Linked DNA regions of Homo sapiens: region 2 is linked to region 1. The links are contacts of gene promoters, found by promoter capture Hi-C in human tissues and cell types (Jung and others, 2019). All regions are on one chromosome and are shown on one strand. Each heading gives the region's core, a stretch centred on a gene start or on the middle of the fragment in contact. The rest is flanking DNA. Distances are from core to core; before and after follow the strand shown.

Region 1 (2,992 bases), core at 153-2,652:
ACAAACTCGCTTCTCTGTCACCTCTCTTATTTATTTATTTGAACCCCTGGCCTCAAGTAATCCTCCCACCTCAGCCCCGAGTGGTTGCGATTACAGGTTTGAGCCACTGCACCTATCTACCTCTCTACCAATGAGACTAGACGTCCATCATCCAACAGATACCACCAAATGGTTAGACCACAAAACCAAACTCCCAATCATTGCTGCTATCAATGTATCAGTAATGTATAAGTTATACCTGAATAACTTATCAGGAATGTACAAATCAGAAATGAAAACACAATCTTTAAAAATCAATTATAAAGGAAAAATATATAACCACTTGGGTTTTCTGTAAGAGCAAATAAAAAACATGCCTGGCCTTAAACAACCCATGATGTATACATTTCTTTCGCCAGATAGTTTGATTCATCACATAAATCCAGTTGGGCATCTCTGTGGAAACTTAAGATTTCCAATAATATAGTATAATTATCAAAAACCTAAAATCATGTCTCTAATGTGAACATAAAATATATACATGTCAAACTTTTATTCAACTCATTGGTTAGTGAGGGAACCGATGACTTTAAAACCAATACAGAATATTAGAGAAGCTAGGCATATGTTAATAAAGAAATGTTAGGACAGAATGCAGGGTTAGATACAAAACTGACTAATGTGTTGCAGAACAATAAATCATAACCTGTGTTGGTATCTGGTACAACAAAAAATTATTTGCATCTCTACCAAACCAAAATCTCTACCAAAGTTAACCTTTGCCCCTACAGAATTGTAAAACAGCCCAGTCAATATAATAAAGTCAAGTCCAGAGCAGCACTGAAAGAGCATCCAGTAAATAAATCTCTTTTGCCTATTTCCAAGTTTTAGTCATTTTTTCCACAGAAATGAGATATTGCAAATATTGCACGGGACATAGATGCACTAAAAAACTATTAATTCATCTGAAGTTCATACTGTATTTTATCCGGCAACCCTAACCACGAGTTAACCAAAACTTTACCAAGTCTGTACAGTTCTTTTGCCAACACGGTATCTCTTAAATCTGTTCCTTAGCTTCATCTTTCCCTAGATAATAAATATCATATTAAGCGCTGTTTCTATTGCACGACTATTCTTCATATTTACCACTGGAGGGCGCACAGAACTCGTAGTATACTAGATAAGAGGTCATGAAGAAACCACCTGAGCGTTTCTGCATCTCAACCACAAGAGGCCAGTACAGGAACCTCAGATTTTGCAACCAGACTGTTTACTCGCTCCCTAAGCAGCCATGCGCAGGCGCGAAACTCCTCCCCAGGCCAGACCCGGCCTGCGCATGCGTTCAAGTGAGCGCGCAGACGCTATTGGTAAGACTCGCGGGAAAAGAAAGGGTGAGCGCGGCTGGAAGCGCGCATGCGCTGTGGCTAATGCCGTAGGCTCCTTCAGGGCTGAGCCATCCCGCGTGTCTTGCGCTCGGTGGAAATGCCCAGCCGAGGGACGCGACCAGAGGACAGCTCTGTGCTGATCCCCACCGACAATTCGACCCCACACAAGGAGGATCTAAGCAGCAAGGTGAGTGTGAGACGCGACGAAAAGGCTCCTGGACTCGGGACCGGGCGCCACTGGACCCTGAAGGTGGTCCGCAGCGGGCAGCGTGGGGCCTGCCTGGGCCTCGGCTTTGCCCTGCTACTTTGCTCTTTTTATTCATAGCACTTGACAGCCACAGTTAGTCCTTTTATTTTCTGAAAACAGTTGCGAAAAGGGAGATCTTGAAATTTGTCCCGAGACTGGACCCAGGTGACAGTGGGGCGGAGTTTTGGTTGGGTGTTTTCCTCCCTAGTCTTTTTAAACTTTTGGAAATACCGCCCACCCCAAATCTGTTCCATCAAAGATATTCTCCATCCAGTTAACCATGCCAGCAACCCGGGGTCCATCCTTGACCCCCATCATGGAAGCCTATCAGTTCTACCTTTGAAGCTCATTTCAAATATGTCCCTTTATCACCGTGAACACTCTTACCACCCCAAATAAGCCACCGTCATCTGCTATCGGGACCCCTGCCCCCGGCAAGGCCTTCCTAAGCGGTCTCTCCTCATCCACCTGTTAGCTGCTGCTTCTCCGTTAACCAGAGCAATGGTCCTAAAACACGCATTGGGTTGTCACTCATACCAAACTGGGGGAGAGAGGAAGCCAATATAATATAAGCCTTAACTGCCATAAACAAACAACCTTTAAAGATAAATGGGGGTGGCGAGGGTTATAGCCCTTCAGGTATTACATGTCCTAGATTCTACTTTGGTTCTGTCCCAAACTTACAATGACATCTTGGGCAAGTCTCTTTAATCTTTCTGTATCAGTTACCTTCTTTGAAGTAAAGTGAAATGTACACCTGTCATTCCTAAAATGGGAAAGCCCTGTATAAATGTTAAGTCTCAAAGAATGTTTACAAATTTGGCCTTGGAATTCAACCTCATTACTACAGCTCTGCCAACGGGGGAGACAGAAAGGTGCACATTCATGGGGATTGGGGGTGAATTTTCAAAAGACACACAGCCCATTCTGATTACCACCATAGCAAGCCACTTACGCATACTGGTGGTTACAGATCCCTGAGGTGTGTGTGAGGTAGCACAAATATGATAAAAGCTGCTTTTAGAGGCTCTTGTGATACTATGTAATCAGTCATGTTCACAAAATAAATAGAGTTAAAAAGAAACTTAGTTTTCACTTAGTTGAGCCCTCCCCTACAAATAAATGAAGCCCAGGCCAGCATGGTGGCCCAGGCCTGTAGTCCCAGCTACTCGGAGGCTAAGGTGTGAGAATCGCCTGAGCCCGGGAAGATCAAAGCTGCAGTGAGCCGTGATCGCACCACTGCACTCCAGCCTGGGTAACAGAGCAAGACCCTGTTTCAAAAAAAAAAAAAAAAAAAAAGCCCAGTTCAACAGTGCCAGCTCTATGCTAGTCATTGAGATAAAAAGAGGGAAAAATACCAAGATGGAACATGATAGGT
Region 2 (2,992 bases), core at 343-2,842, 510 kb after region 1:
CACCTGAGGTCAGGAGTTGGAAACCAGCCTGCCCAAAATGGCGAAACCCCGTCCCAACTAAAATTACAAAAAAATTAGCTGGGTGCAGTGGTGGGCACCTGCAATCTCAGCTACTCCAGAGGCTGAGGCAGGAGAATCACTTGAACCCGGGAGGCAGACGTTGCAGTGAGCCGTGATCATGCCACTGCACTCCAGCCTCGGTGACAAAGAGAGACTCCATCTCAAAAAAAATAAAATAAAATAAAAATGAGATGGCATGTGAAGGGCTGTTATGGTTCTCAGCACATAGTAGATGCTCAATAAATAGTAACTATTATCTCTAAGTTAGAGTTAATTCTCTACTACATCTGATGAGGTTAGCAGTTAAGTGAAATATCACAAACCATAAAATATTCGTACATAGATAGTTTCTTATGTTGAATTATCTGGAATTCATGAGTACCAATTCATTCAACATTTGGCAGTTGGTTTGCTCTCTAAGAAAAAATGTTCAAAAGATTGAAAGCTGCCTCCTTAGCCAAGGACCACAGCAGAACTCACTCTGTCCTCATAGAGGGCATACACTGTAAGACGTCAAGATAATGCCTGTAGTACTGGGGTGAATGTAGTTCAAATGCCAAGTGCACGTGAATTTATATTGTGAAACAACTCCTAAAATGATAGAATCTTGGCTTTGAGAAATTTTATTCTTTGTAAAAATCTCCCTCATAGCTTCCCAGATAGATCATCTGACTTCTGGTTGAAAGGGAAGCTCACCATTTCACAAACCAGACCATCGTCTTCTAAGTTATAACCAATAGACAGTCCTCTCTTAATTAAATCCAGAACTCCCTGCTGGAGGATACAGTAAATTCCTCTTCAAAGTTTAGCCTGTTAACTTCCTTTAAAATTCAAGATCGAGAAAATTGTTAAGTACAGTGAGTTCTGAGTTTCTCTCCAAAGAACCAATATGTCAGTATGTTCAGCTTCCCTGTTCTTTGTTCTCCATCTTAAAGTCTGACTTTCTTGTTCTTTACGTCTTCTTGCCCCTAGTTTCAGTAAACAACCCCCTCCTAGCTTCTGTCACCTGCTCTGTCCTTAGTCACCTGCTCTGTCCTTAGTCATCCTTAGTCACCTGCTCTGTAACCATCCCTCCCACCAAAACTACTCACCCTGCCACTCCGGCTCCTACCTTTGCTCTCTTTAAAATAGCCCAGTCAGAATTAGCTTAGACTGTGTGGTCCAACCCTAGCCAATAGGGGAAAAACATAGCAGTAGGGACTAGCTGCATTAGGAATAAGACCCCCTTCCCCCACCGTGTCTGGTGTGCTCTCGCCATTGCTCCATCCACAAAACACACCCTTCTATAGAAGTAAATTGCCTTGCTGAGAAAACTTTTGCCTGAGGACTGTTTTCACTTGGTGGCACTGAGCATTTACTTCCAACACTGCCATGACTTCTTCCTGCTGGTTCTCGTACTGCCCATCAGAGCAGCGCAGATTAAATACAGTCCCTTGTCCATATGAATACCCCTCAGATTTCTCTTCTCATTCTCCTTAACTTCTTCAGGATAAATATTCTAATGTCTTCAGTTATGTGGCTATGCCCCCTTTCAAGGTATATTAGTCAAATATTTAATTTAAAAATCATGAGCTAATAAATATGTGAAAGTCCATAATTCCAGGGAGAAGCTAAACTATGTTGATCAAATTGGGACAGATTGTTTTTAACACCCAAGGCAGTGAAACAATGGAAAGTGACTCATACTGAAAGGCACATATGCCCTAAGTAAAAAAAACAGAACATACAATATAATATGAAATTTGAAATAGCAAATTTTGGACCAATGGTTATTGCAGTATTTATATGACTTTTAACAATGTCTTATACTCACATTTGTAAGCAAATAAAAGTTGGCCCCATCTTGATGCCAAAAATGGTTATCAAAATAAATGCAGGTGAAGACTTATAGAAGCTTGGATTCATGGGCCCAAGCAGTAATGTTCTTCTCTGTTTAAACTGAGATGAAATTATATAAAGCACCAAAGCAAAGAATCATGCCCAACTCCACAAACATTTCATGCCTTCCTTGTGTCAGGTGTTGGAAATAAGCACATAAGATACATAGATTACATGGAGTACATAGTTCCTATCCTCAAGATGCTCAGAATTTGGTGGTGGGGGTAGGGGTGGTAGAATAAATATAGGTAACCATAAAAGACAACAACAACAACAAAATCAGACGCTTATTTATTTCCAGGCACGTCTACCTCTTTGGGGATTGTTAAATCTACTTATACCATAGAAATATAGTGTCTATTAATGATGCTTTAAAGACTTCAAAATGTACTTAAGTTCAGCGTAAAGATCTTTTGACAGATCTTGTATAGGAAGATGAGGCTTGTTTACGGACAGATGCACATCAGTAAACTTAAAGACCAAACTCAACACAAAAAGGAATGCAGAACAACTTTAAGAACCAAACAAGTGAGAAGAAATAGACTGATGGTATAGTTGACAGCTTATATAGTTGTAAATATAATGAACAGAACTGGATTATACATTACACGGTCAGGAGATACTATTCCACAATAGTCTCATGCTCTGCATTAAACTCTTATTTGGAACTATTCCCTAGTTTGGGTTGCCGGACATTTAGTTACACCTGGAGAACCAGAATGGGTCTAGAGCAGCCTAACAAAATGTGAGTAAAGGAAATTCTGTGAGAAAAACTAAAGAATTTTTTTCTTCAGGAGTGAGAAGCTTGGAGGGGCTATTTGATTTTTGTCTTCCACATAAGGAAGATAATGTCAATCACTTCTCACTTCAGTGACATAATGAGTAAGACTACAATGGCCTACAGTACCATTTGGAAAATTTAATTCATAAGAGCTTTTAAGCATATCATGATATATATTAAAATATTATAATGGCAAACTGCCATGGTTTGAATGTTCCCTCCAAAATTCAGATGTTGCCGATGTGATAGGATTAAGAGGTAGGGCCTTTAAGA

Evidence for each region. The method cuts DNA at HindIII sites, captures the fragments that hold promoters and counts their contacts. A contact is called where the count stands out against the background at its distance.
Region 2: a contact is called between a fragment that was not itself captured here and the fragment with the promoter of ASNSD1 in region 1, in 1 of the 25 tissues and cell types used here (lymphoblastoid cells).

What each region holds. Positions count from the first base shown.
Region 1 is chr2:189,660,057-189,663,048 of GRCh38, forward strand. It overlaps ASNSD1 (asparagine synthetase domain containing 1), which reads left to right and starts at 1,403. Exons shown (of 6, transcript NM_019048.4): 1 at 1,403-1,554. ASDURF (ASNSD1 upstream open reading frame) reads left to right here and starts at 1,403. Exons shown (of 4, transcript NM_001353493.2): 1 at 1,403-1,554. The coding sequence starts at 1,465. RefSeq lists an enhancer at 1,461-1,650. The HindIII fragment of the contact is 8,906 bases long and covers 1-2,992 here.
Region 2 is chr2:190,172,892-190,175,883 of GRCh38, forward strand. It overlaps a transcript of AKAP19 not described here. Among named protein-coding and RNA genes, the nearest start is that of AKAP19, 6.5 kb to the right of the region's middle. The HindIII fragment of the contact is 3,430 bases long and covers 1-2,992 here.